Regions from separate parts of the Homo sapiens genome. Here region 1 is linked to region 2. The links are contacts of gene promoters, found by promoter capture Hi-C in human tissues and cell types (Jung and others, 2019). All regions are on one chromosome and are shown on one strand. Each heading gives the region's core, a stretch centred on a gene start or on the middle of the fragment in contact. The rest is flanking DNA. Distances are from core to core; before and after follow the strand shown.

Evidence for each region. Contacts are between HindIII fragments. The study calls those that stand out against the background at their distance.
Region 1: a contact is called between a fragment that was not itself captured here and the fragment with the promoter of FAM221B in region 2, in 2 of the 25 tissues and cell types used here (dorsolateral prefrontal cortex and mesenchymal stem cells).

The regions. Positions count from the first base shown.
Region 1 is chr9:36,085,251-36,091,127 of GRCh38, forward strand. RECK (reversion inducing cysteine rich protein with kazal motifs) reads left to right here. Exons shown (of 21, transcript NM_021111.3): 9 at 2,444-2,711. Among named protein-coding and RNA genes, the nearest start is that of GLIPR2, 49 kb to the right of the region's middle. The HindIII fragment of the contact is 4,175 bases long and covers 1-3,984 here.
Region 2 is chr9:35,825,066-35,830,960 of GRCh38, forward strand. It overlaps FAM221B (family with sequence similarity 221 member B), which reads right to left and starts at 3,667. Exons shown (of 7, transcript NM_001012446.4): 1 at 3,398-3,667; 2 at 499-1,096; 3 at 165-308. The coding sequence starts at 1,096. It overlaps TMEM8B (transmembrane protein 8B), which reads left to right and starts at 4,163. Exons shown (of 13, transcript NM_001042590.4): 1 at 4,163-4,890. The coding sequence starts at 4,383. RefSeq lists enhancers at 1,032-1,391, 4,755-5,255 and a silencer at 4,020-4,469. The HindIII fragment of the contact is 23,285 bases long and covers 1,309-5,895 here.

The DNA.
Region 1 (5,877 bases), core at 647-3,146, 260 kb after region 2:
TCTTTTAAAAATTAGGGCCTCCTGATGAAGCTGCACCTGAAATGGCTCTTCAGAGTCTCCGCTTTGTACATCCTGGAATCCATTTTCTTCACCTAGAGGTGACCAGATTTATAAAAACTGACTGATTGACCAAACTGACCAAAGACTGATTTATAAGATGTCAATGTTTTGATTTACACTGTGATATTGAAAGAGGCTCTGTGGCTTATGTCTGTAATCTCAGCGCTTTGTGATGCTGAGGCAGGAGAATTGCTTGAGGCCAAGAGTTTGAGACCAGCCTGGGTAACAAAGTGAGAACCCAGCTCTACAAAAAAATAATAATAATAATTAGCTGGGTGTGGTGACACACCCAGCTCCTCAGGAGGCTGATGCTGGAGGATCGCTTGAGCCCAAGAGTTCAAGGTTGCAGTGAGCCATCATCACTTCACTGCACTCCAGCCAGGGCAACAAAGCAAGACCCTGCCTCGGGGGGAAAAAAAAAGATGAAAAGAAAGAAAGACTTGTTTTTTGTAACTCAGTAGCAGTACTGTGTGCCTTGTTTGGCCACCATCTAAATCAGAACTCTAATGGCTTTTGACATCCTTTGGTGTAGCTGTGTGGTCAAAATCAGAGGATGAAGCATTGCCCCAATAACCTTCATTTGTTTTAAAGGCAGATCTGTGCTCTCTGACATTTAGTCTATACGAGATACTGCTGGAGCTAAGGAGATGGCAGCTCAATAAAAAAGCAGAAAGAGGTTTTAAGGGTAGAACAACCGTCTCCATCTTTGCCAATACAGAGGAATCTGGAAAAGAAGGCGCCAAACAGATATGCACAGATTTCTTCCAAAGTCAGAGAAAACTACTTCAAAGAAGCCCTTCTGAATTCTGTAATATGGTTGAAAGTGTTTTTTTATTTCTGATTCTTTGAGAAAATTAAAGGCAGAGCCAAACTGATATCTTGTCAGAGTTCGCTACTGTACTATTTATGTTACAACTTAGATTAATTAGCATAAGATATATAAAAGCTTTATGTGGTCCTGGAATGTAATGAAATATTGTGTCTGGAATTGGTTCCTTCCGGTGGGTTCTTGGTCTCGCTGACTTCAAGAGTGAAGCCACAGACCTTCGCGTGAGTGTTACAGCTCTTAAAGGTGGCATCCAGAGTTGTTTGTTCCTCCCAGTGGGTTCGTGGTCTCGCTGACTTCAGGAGTGAAGCCGCAGACCTTCGCAGTGAGTGTTACAGCTCATGAAGGTAGTGCCGACCCAAAGAGTGAGCAGCAACAAGATTTATTGTGAAGAGTGAAAGAACAAAACTTCCACAGCATGGAAAGGGACTGGAGCAGGTTGCCACTGCTGGCTCGGGTGGCCAGCTTTTATTCCCTTATTTGGCCCCGCCCACATCTGCTGATTGGTCCGTTTTACAGAGTGCTGATTGGTCTATTTTTACAGAGTGCTGATTGCTACCTTTACAAACCTTTAGCTAGCCAGAAAAGTTCTCCAAGTCCCCACCTGACCCAGAGGCCCAGCCGGCTTCACCTCTCAATATGGTGTTTGTGTTTGTTGCTATAAAAATTAGTCATTTCTCTCATGTCAAGAACATAATCCCTTTTAGGTAATTGTTTCTAGCAGGAAATAATTCCAGTTTCATCTACAATACCTTTTCTAGGAATATCAAATACCTCTCCTGTGAGGACTTCTTAGGTGTAGGATGGCCTTTCATTTTTGTAAGGATGGTGCTAAAGATCCCATGATTGGAGACAGTGGTGAATTCTGGTAATAGATACCTTGTCCACCTAAAGCTCCTCACCTTTTTGCTACACTGCAAAGTAATAGAGAATTTGGTAGGGCCTGTATTCTGCAAATACTGACATATAACTAAGAGTAGTAATGGCTTCCACTACACTGCCATGTTCTGTGCTAAGCAGAGCATGACAAAAAAAGAAAAAAAAAACATGCACACATATGTTTATTGCAGCACTATTCACAGTAGCAAAGACTTAGAACCAACCCAAATGCCCATCAGTGACAGACTGAATAAAGAAAATGTGGCACATCTACACCATGGAATACTATGCAGCCATAAAAAAGGATGAGTTCATGTCCTTTGCAGGGACATGGATGAAGCTGGAAACCATCATTCTCAGCAAACTAACACAAGAACAGAAAACAAAATACTGCATGTTCTCACTCATAAGTGGGAGTTGAACTATGAGAACACATGGACACAGGGAGGGGAACATCACACACCAGGGCCTGTCAGGGAGTTGGGGGCTAGGGGAGGGATAGCATTAGGAGAAATACCTAATGTAGATGACAGGTTGATGGGTTCAGCAAACCACCATGGCATGTGTATACCTATGTAACAAATCTGCACATTCTGCACATGTATCCCAGAACTTAAAGTACAATAAAAACAAACAAAAAAAACAGCTAATTAAGCCACTTATATTCTGAAAATGTAGGTTTATATTGCTGTGACAGAGCTGAAGACCATGCTTGCCAAAATGCCTGCAAGAGAATCCTGATGTCCAAGAAAACGGAAATGGAGATTGTTGATGGTCTCATCGAGGGTTGTAAGACCCAGCCCTTGCCTCAAGATCCTCTTTGGCAATGTTTTCTTGAAAGCTCACAATCTGTTCACCCTGGAGTCACTGTACACCCTCCTCCCTCTACAGGCCTCGATGGGGCTAAATTGCATTGTTGTTCTAAAGCAAACACTTCAACATGTAGGTTAGTATTTCATTTTCCTTTACCAAAATCAGTAGAAAATGGCATTTTAATTAATGATTTTAAGCCTAGCAAACGTGTGTTATATTCTTACGTGGTATAGGTTTAGCATTTAGAAAATATAAAATATTATTTCATCCAACAAATGTGTATTGAGCATTGTGTACCGTATACAAAACATTGTTCTGTATATTGAGTGCTAAAAGCTCTGTGTTTTGGGGTGTGGAGGATTAGCATTGGCAGGGTAGTAAATATTTAAGATGATGCAATAGATGAATTCTATCCTTATAGAGATCATTAAGTAAGCTTACAGTTTAGAAGATGTTTTGATCTGACATCTAAGGGACATTCTCTTTATTAAATTATGAAACTTTGAACTTTTTATTATATTGGTGGATAACCTGGGTTAGCACTTATAACCAGAGTTAGGTGGTAGCATATTGGCATTCATCTTGGTGATACACTTAGAGATGAAAAATTAACAATACAAATATAGGATGTAGGAATTGCAGTCTAGAGACAAAAACAAATGGAGATACCTAAGATCATGGTAGAACACAGGTACAATAGAAATGTGCTTTATTAGAGATATTTGGGGTAAAAAGGGACCCCATGTTACTCGGATATCCTGAAATGAATATAAGATACCAGGCGTAAAACAATCTTTCCTGTGGTTTCTAAATTGGATGGACCTTTAGCAAAAAATTTTGCCTAGAATAGCTCATCAGACTTTGGTAATTGTCAATCAAACTTTGGCAAATTTTTTAAAAGACATGAAGGTCGGGCGCGGTGGCTCATGCCTGTAATCCCAACACTTCAGGAGGCTGAGGCAGGGGATCACCTGAGATCAGGAGTTTGAGACCAGCCTGGCCAATATGGTGAAACCCTGTCTCTACTAAAAAATATACAAAATTTAGCGGGGCGTGGTGGCACATGCCTGTAATTCCAGCTACTTGAGAGGCTGAGGCAGAAGAATCACTTGGACCTGGGAGGCAGAGGTTGCAGTGAGCCGAGATTGCGCCACTGCACTCCAGCCTGAGTGACACAGTGAAGACTCCGTCTCAAAATAAATTAATTAATTAATTAAAGACATGAAAAAGAGCGAGACTCTGTCTCCAAATAAATAAATGAAAGACGTGAAAAATCTCCAAAGAAAATTAACAAAAAGGCTTAAAGGGAAATTAAATTAGGCTTGTAATTAAGGAAATTAGATTGCTTGTAGAAGTTAATAAATATATTTATGGGAAGGATGCTGAGTGTTTCTTTGAATGCCCACAAAAAAGTTTACACCTACGTAGAGTCACTAGAGGTTGGAATGGCCGTGTTGTCCCAAAAGAGCTTCAGTAAGGAAGGCTTTTCCTTCTCTCTAACCTTGATACAGGGTTTTATGGTTTGCTGAAGGCTTGCATTTTCATCAGATTTCATCTTCATAAAACCTTAGGAGATAATTGGAGAAATTTATGTAATTTTTCTTTTACACTTAATAAACTAACTATGAGATGTTAAATAACCTGTCCAAGGCAAATACAGATTGACCACCCTTAATCCAAAAATCTGAAATCCAAAATGCTCCAAAATCAGAAACGTTTTGAGTGCTGACATGACACCACAAGTGGAAAATTCCACACCTGACCTCATGTGATGGGTCACAGTCAAAATGCAGTCAAAACTTTGTATCATGCACAAAATTATTTAAAATACTGTATAAGATTACCTTCAGGCTATGTGTATAAGGTATATATGAACATAAATGAATGTCGTGTTTAGACTTGGGTCCTAGCCCCAAAATATCTCATTAGGTATATACAAGTATTCTAAAATCCAAAAAAAATCCAAAATTTGGGTCCCAAGCATTTCAGATGAGGGATACCCAACCTATAGAAAGTTAAGGACTAGCCAGATGCAGTGACTCAAGCCTGTAATTCCAGGGTGAGGCAGATGGATCGCCTGAGGTCAAGAGTTCCAGACCAGCCTGGTCAACATGGCAAAACCCCATCTCTACTAAAAATACACACACACACACACACACACACACACACACACACAAATTAGCCAGGTGTGGTGGCAGATGCCTATAATCTCAGCTGCTTGGGAGGCTGAGGCACTAGAATCACTTGAACCCAGGAGGCAGAGGCTGCAGTCAGCCGAGATCACGCCACTGCACTCCAGACTGGGTGACAGAGTGAGACTCTGTCTCTAAAAACAAAACAAAAAAGAAAGAAAGTTAAGGACTAGAAAAAAGAAAGCTTCCAGATCGAGGTACCTGATGTAACTTGATCACAGCTTCCTTATTCCCATAATGTGTAAGCCTCACTGATAGCAGGGACCTTGTCTGTTTTATTCACCATTGTATTTCCAGTGCTTTCAACAGGCCCTCACACAAAATAGACACTCAATAAACATTGGTGGGGTGAATGAACAAATGTAAAAGTAAAGATATCTTTGTCATAGGGGTAAATATGACAGTCAAAATATAAGGTGAATGAAAATTTTTACTTATAATTTTGTATATTTCAATAATATGAAAATTTTATTGTAAACATGTATTTTATAAATAAAATGAATATCATGTGTGAGAGCACTTTAGAAATGGTATAAATGTTTTAGCTATATACACATACTTAAGTTGCTTTGTAATCATTGAGTACTAAAAATAAGAAGATTGTGTATTACAATAGTACATAGAGGCTTTGGAATATCTTAGGGAATAGAAATGGCTTTAGTATAGTTTTTCAGGGAGAAACTAATGTACCCTAAGTCTATCATGCTTCTTAAAAGAAGTCAGAGGACCATGTCCTAGTTTTACCGTCTGTGACTGAACATAAATATAAGGGAATATATCTTTGCAGAGGCAAAACCATGTACTTTAAGTAAAAGTAAAAAAGAAATCAGAAAGATATAGGGGGAAATAATTGTGCCAGGAACTAAGGATGCACAAATACTGTAATTGAACATTAAATTTGGCACTGAGATTTCTAGCAACCTTGACAAAAAGAGAAAAGGTAGGTGATAAAAGAAGCCTGTTTTCCATGGAAAACAATCAACTTTTTCTGGCTCTAGTTTCTAGGAAATAGTCATTTGGTTTTTTTACTTTTTTTCTCACATACGTTCCAAAGTATATAGTTCATAGAGTTTTAGTTTTATGCAAATCAAATATTTACTTGGTTGG
Region 2 (5,895 bases), core at 2,417-4,916:
ACCCTTGTATTCCTTGGCCCACTTGCCTGCTCCTTTTCCAGGCAGGTGGTATAGCCATTTCCAAAAGGGGAAGCTATCTGCTGAATGTTCAGGTTCCCAGATCTTTTGGATTAGAGGATGCCCATGGGCCTGTCACAGGCCTCTGAAAGGCCACATGGGCTCACCTGTCTGGATGGCATTCAGGGCTGCATCCTTCTCCCACTGGAAAAGATTGTTCACTTGAGCACCAAACTCCTCTCTATGCATTGCCTTAGCCACTTCCACCAGCTCTGTCTGCCTAGCAGGGAACACTGGGCGGGCTGTGTTACCTAGGATGGGAGAGGATGAGTAACCAGGGGGAAGTGAGAAGGCCCTAAAACTAAGAGAAGGGGCCATGTCCAAGAGTAACCCAGTCTCCTCCTCCTGGGGCAAGTCAAGGACAGTGAATAGTAGTGAGAACAGGACAGGGGAGAGGACAGGTACAATTACAGCTAACTCCTTTCTTCTTCTTCTTCTTGCCTAGTTGGTGTCCAGGTTGGGCTGTGTGAGCAGTGCTGTCACTGGCATCTACTCCCTTTTCAACCTCTCCTGCTTCTTCCTCCTGCTTTTCGGTTGTGTCCACTTGGACCTGGGATGAAGGGCCTGAAAGACAGTGTTCTGGAAGGCTCTCAGATTCAGAGAGATGGGTAGACCTCCTTGTCCATGGGACCTCATTGGAAGAAGACTCAGAGGAGAGGTCTTCCTTCAGAGTATCAGAAGAAGACAGACAGACATAGTCTCGTGATTGGGGAGGAAGAGTAAGGTGTTTCTCTGGCACCACTGAGATGGGACTATCCAATGAAGCCTCATAGGTAGGGGTCTCTGAAGGAGTCTCAGAGATGGAAGGCTCCTGATGGGTTTCAGGGGAATGGGCCTCTAAGGGGATCTGGGAAGGGGATGGCACCAAAGGGGATTCAGAGGTATGGGGCTCTAACGGGGTCTCAGAGGTGGAAGGCTTCAAGAAGCTTTCAGAGATATGGTTCTCCTGTAAGTCCTCAGCAGAGGGGTCCTTTGAAGGGGGGTGCTTCTCTGCATCCATGGTGATATGAGGCTCTTCTATGATCTCATGTGCTTCCATCTAGTGGTAGAACAGGGTACAGGCTTCATTAGGTTGGAAATAGAGGGCCGGCAAGTCAGGGCAGAGCCCAGGGTTCGCAGTGCATTATGGAATTTGGATAAGGATATCAGTGCAGCTGAGATATAAGAGGGAAACAACATGAACTCTGGGTCCTAGAGTGTGATGCCAAAAGGTTCACCCATGTGTCCAGACCTCATATGGCATGCTGCTGTGGCTTGTTAGGGAGCTGGAACTTAAAGATTGAAAGACTGAAGTAGTTCGAATCCCATCAGTAGATGGTAGCAGAGAACCATGTCCCAGGAGGGAGTCTGAACAACACCACTTGGGCAGTCCAAGAGCAGGGTCCTTGGCATATCTTAAAACCCTGGAGGTCAGACCATGGAGTTCTAGAGACTGGCAATACCAAGCCAAAGTTGGGGTTGGCTCCTGAGAGTGCAGGGGAATGCTGTCACATAAGGCAAGACACTGCACGCAGCCTGGTTTTGTCTAGGCACCACACACATCCTCCTCCCTTAATGATGTCATTCATGTTCAAAGCTTTAACTACTTCCAGTTGTGTACCAATGACTCCTAAATTCACATTTCTAGCTCAGACCTTTTTCAACCTCTGTACTTCACACTCATACCCACCTGCCTGCTGGCCTTCTCTTCTCTTCTCTTTTTGTGATGGAGTCTCGCTCTGTTGCCCAGACTGGAGTGCAGTGGCGCAATCTCGGTTCACTGCAACCTCCGCCTCCCGGGTTCAAGTGATTCTCCTGCCTCAGCCTCCCAAGTAGCTGGAATTACAGGCGTGTGCCACCATGCCCGGCTAAGTTTTATATTTTTAGTAGAGACGGGGTTTCACCATGTTGGTCAGGCTGGTCTTGAACTCCTGACCTCAGGTGATCTGCCCTGCTTGGCCTCCCAAAGTGCTGAGATTACAGGAGTGAGCCACCGTGCTTGGCCCCTGCTGGTCATTTCTAACTGAGTGTTTCCACAGACAGCAAAACTGAACTTTGGGAATTATCCTAGTCTTTTCCTTTTCCCTTAGACTCCATCTTCAAATAGGCACCAATAACTCTATTTCCTATCTTCTAAATATTCCCCAAATGCATTCTCTCCTCTCCCTTCCAATTTTATTCAAGTTCTCATCATCTTCAGCCTTTGTGTAATAACTTTGCCCCTCTACTTCCATCCACAGCATTTTAATCCATTCACCCATTCTTTCATGGATTTATGTAACTTATACTTTTACAATGAGCCTAATCTGATGCTTTTACTGACCCGCTGTGCTAAGCTCTAGATTGAGTTGAGTCTAGGAGAGAGACCGATTAACCAACAATGGCAATACAAATAAATTGATGTTGTTCTGGGGTGAGTCTAGGATACGGTGGGGAGGGGGATATACCTAATTTATCCTGCAAGGATGTAGTCCTCCTTCCTGACCCAATCAGGATCTTTCTAAAGTGCAAGCCCAACAACTGGCACTTTGTGGCTTAAAAACATTCCATGACTCAGTCTAAAGGATTAAGTCCAAATTTCTTGGCCCTGGCATTCAAGGCCTGTCATCATTTTCAACACAGCCTGAGGATTCCTGCCTTAACTTTCCGTGCTCCCTACTTTACCCCCATGTTCCAGAGACGCTAGATATATCACTCCTTAAATGCATCAGAGCCTTTTTGAAGGGGATGTTTGGGAAGGGAATTAGGGGCAGAGGTAGGATTACAGGGAGGAAGATGACCAGAGTCAGCTAGAGAGAAAAGGGGCCTAAGAGTGGAGAACCAGAAGATGGGAGGTGAGGAAGGGGAAAGAGAAGGGGAGGAGGAAATTGGGTGGAGGAGGAGAGTAAGGATGAAAAGTACAGAATGTGGGCCAGGCATGGTGGCTCATGCCAGTAATCCCAGAATTTGGGAGGCCAAGGCGGGTGGATCACTTGAGGTCAGGAGTTCGAGACCAGCCTGGCCAACATGGTGAAACCCAGTCTCTACTAAAAATACAAAAATTAGCTGGGCATGGTGGCAGGCGCCTGTAGTCCCAGCTACTGGGGAGGCTGAAGCAAGCAAATCACTTGAACCTGGGAGGCGGAGGTTGCAGTGAGCCCAGATCGCACCACTGCACTCCAGCCTGGGGGACAGAGCGAGACTCTGTCTCAAACAACAACAACAACAACAACAACAACAACAACAACAACAACTACTACTACTACTACTACTACTACTACTACTACTACTACTACTACAACAATGTGAAGGGACTGAGGGGTGGGAGAAAGACAGATGTCTTTGAGGGAAGAGGGCAAGGGCCGTTGGAGAAACCACCTACCCTCTGGGCTTTGGCTTGGTTGTTACAAGTCCTTAGGTCAAGACCTTGACTTAGGATGGCAGGGGGAGGTGTTGATCCTCAGGGAGGAAAGGCTCTTGGTTGTGGATGTGCCTCAGCTGCAGGTGCTGAGTGTTGAAATGCCTTGCCTGAAAGTCTGCTATCTGGGAAGGGGACTTGGATATCTGCAGAACTTCGCAAAGGAGCTCTGGCATGACCTGGGGAAGTGGGTAGGGACAAGGGGTCTAGGGCCAATGAGGGAGGGTCTTGACTGAAGCCTCCGGAACCCGGGCCAGGAGAGTAGGCGCCGGTCACCAGGGCAACCGGAACGCCTAGTAGTCTCCGTGGCAACGGCGGTCTGGTCACCTCCCCGGTGGGTAAGGTCTCCTGAGGGGCTTGCATTGGGCCTCGAGGGGGCGAGCCCAGAGGGTTTACTTCTGAAAAGTGGGGTGTGTGTTGCGGGATCTCTGTGAGCGAGTGTTTGGGTAGGATCTGCGGAGATCTGTGCGTACGTCCGGGGGAGTCTGGGATTGTGAGGATAGGGTTCCTTTGAGACATCTGTGGGGCGGTCGTTGGGGGCTGTGAGGATCTGAGGGGACCTCGGGCTCTGTGCTTGGGGTGAGAAAGGCAGGGTCTCGGGTAGCTGAGGCGGGGGCGGAGTCTGTGTGTCCTCGAAGCCCAGCAGGACTAAGTTGGGGACCAATAGAGTAGGGCGGGGGCGGGCTTTACTGACAGGGACCAATCGAGCCGGCCGGGGGGCGGGGCGTCACGCCGACGTCAAGTCGAGGCCGCCGCCGCGGGGCCTGGTTATCGCCGGTTCAGCGCAGCCCGGAGTCGCCCAGGCCTGAACTCCTACCCAGGTCCCCGGCCCCCGCCCCGGGCCCGCGAGGACACCGGAGGCCACCCCCCGGGGGTGGGGAGCGGAGCCGCGGGCCAGCTCTGCGAGCGCCCCGCGCTGGCCTGTCCGGCCCCGCCCCCGCCCCGGGCCATGGCCCAGCCCTTGTCCCGGCCCCTCGTCCTATCCCAATCCCCGCCTTGGCCCCCAGCCCCGCCCTCGCCCCGCTTCCCACATCGGCCCCAGCCCCTGCCTGGGTCCCCATCCAGGACCCCCTTCCAGTCTCTGCCCCTGGCCTGGCCCCCATCCCGGCCTCGGCCCTCGTTCCACCCCCTGTCACAAATCCCAGCCCAGGCCCTGTCCCAGCCCCATTCCCAGTGTTTGCTTAAGGCCCTGGCTCAACCCCGTCCCTTGCTGCAGTCCCCATCACAGCCCTTCCTTCCATCCCACTCCCTGCCCTTGTTCAAGCCCCAGTGTCCAGCCCAGCCCAACCCATTATCTCAGCCTTTGCCCTCATCTCTGTGTTTACCCAAGTCTCTCCCTCTAGTCCCCCCTATCTCTCATACTCTGCCCCTCTCCCAGCCTAGACTCAAGTCTGGGTTTCAGCTGCCGCCAGCCCTATTGCTGCTGTTGCTGTTCTCTGTCCTTGGCCCAGGGGCTGGTGAGTGCAGAAGCAGGGAAGATTGAGGCAGGAATGGGGTTCCGGCAGGGAGGGGTGGGCTGGAGAGATTCAGGAGAGGTGGGACCTGGGGAACTAGATCATTGGGGAGCAAGTGGGAGAAATAGAGAGTAGAGAGGTCTTACACAACAGGGATTGGCAGGGTCAAAAGAGTGGTAATTAATTGGGTTTGAGGCTCAGCAGGTGGCTTACAGTTTCTAGCACAGAGACTCCAAGATTTTTTCTGGTGTCTGTCCTGACCCCACTTTGACTCTTGCTTTTCCAGGGAAATGTTGTGGGCTTTGCTCCTGCTCACAAAGTTTGATGGGGGAGAGACAGTCCCACACCAGAAGCCCCTAGTGTAGTGTGGGAATATATAGCCCAAACCTTTGAGATATTGGGCATGCATTCAAACGGCATGAAGAAGAGTTTTAAAGATAATATGTAGCAAATAGATGAATATGGATTAGTTGCCATTATAATGAGTTTTCTTCTTGTAATGATTCTTGTTCCAAAGAAGATTGATTTGCCTAGGAATAATTCCTGATACTTTTAGAGCAGGGCTGAAACTCGGAGGCTATTTTACAGATGGGGAAACTGAGGCTCAGGGAGGGAGCAATTTGTCCAAAGTCAGAGAGCTTGTGAATGGCAGTGTGCTGGGGCTAGAAAAAAGGTTTCCTAATTCCTATTTCATACTAGTGTGTTTTTTTTTATCCACTGCAATGTATACTTAATAGAAAAATAGACCCAAGTGGGGAAAGGCTCAAAGCATAACCTCCCTTCTCCCCGGTCTGCCCACAAGGGTGCTTTATCCACAAACTGTTCCTTATTTGCCAGGCGTCAGCCAAGGGCCACCCTCCGGTGGGGAAGTGACTTGGACAGAAGAGAGAGAGGTCCAATTTTTTAATGGTTGGAATGTGGGAGGAGGAGGGGGTGTCCTGGTCTAGGGGATGTGCCATGAAGATGGCTCCATCATGGAGTGACTGTAGTCTTCATGGCCCAAGTCTG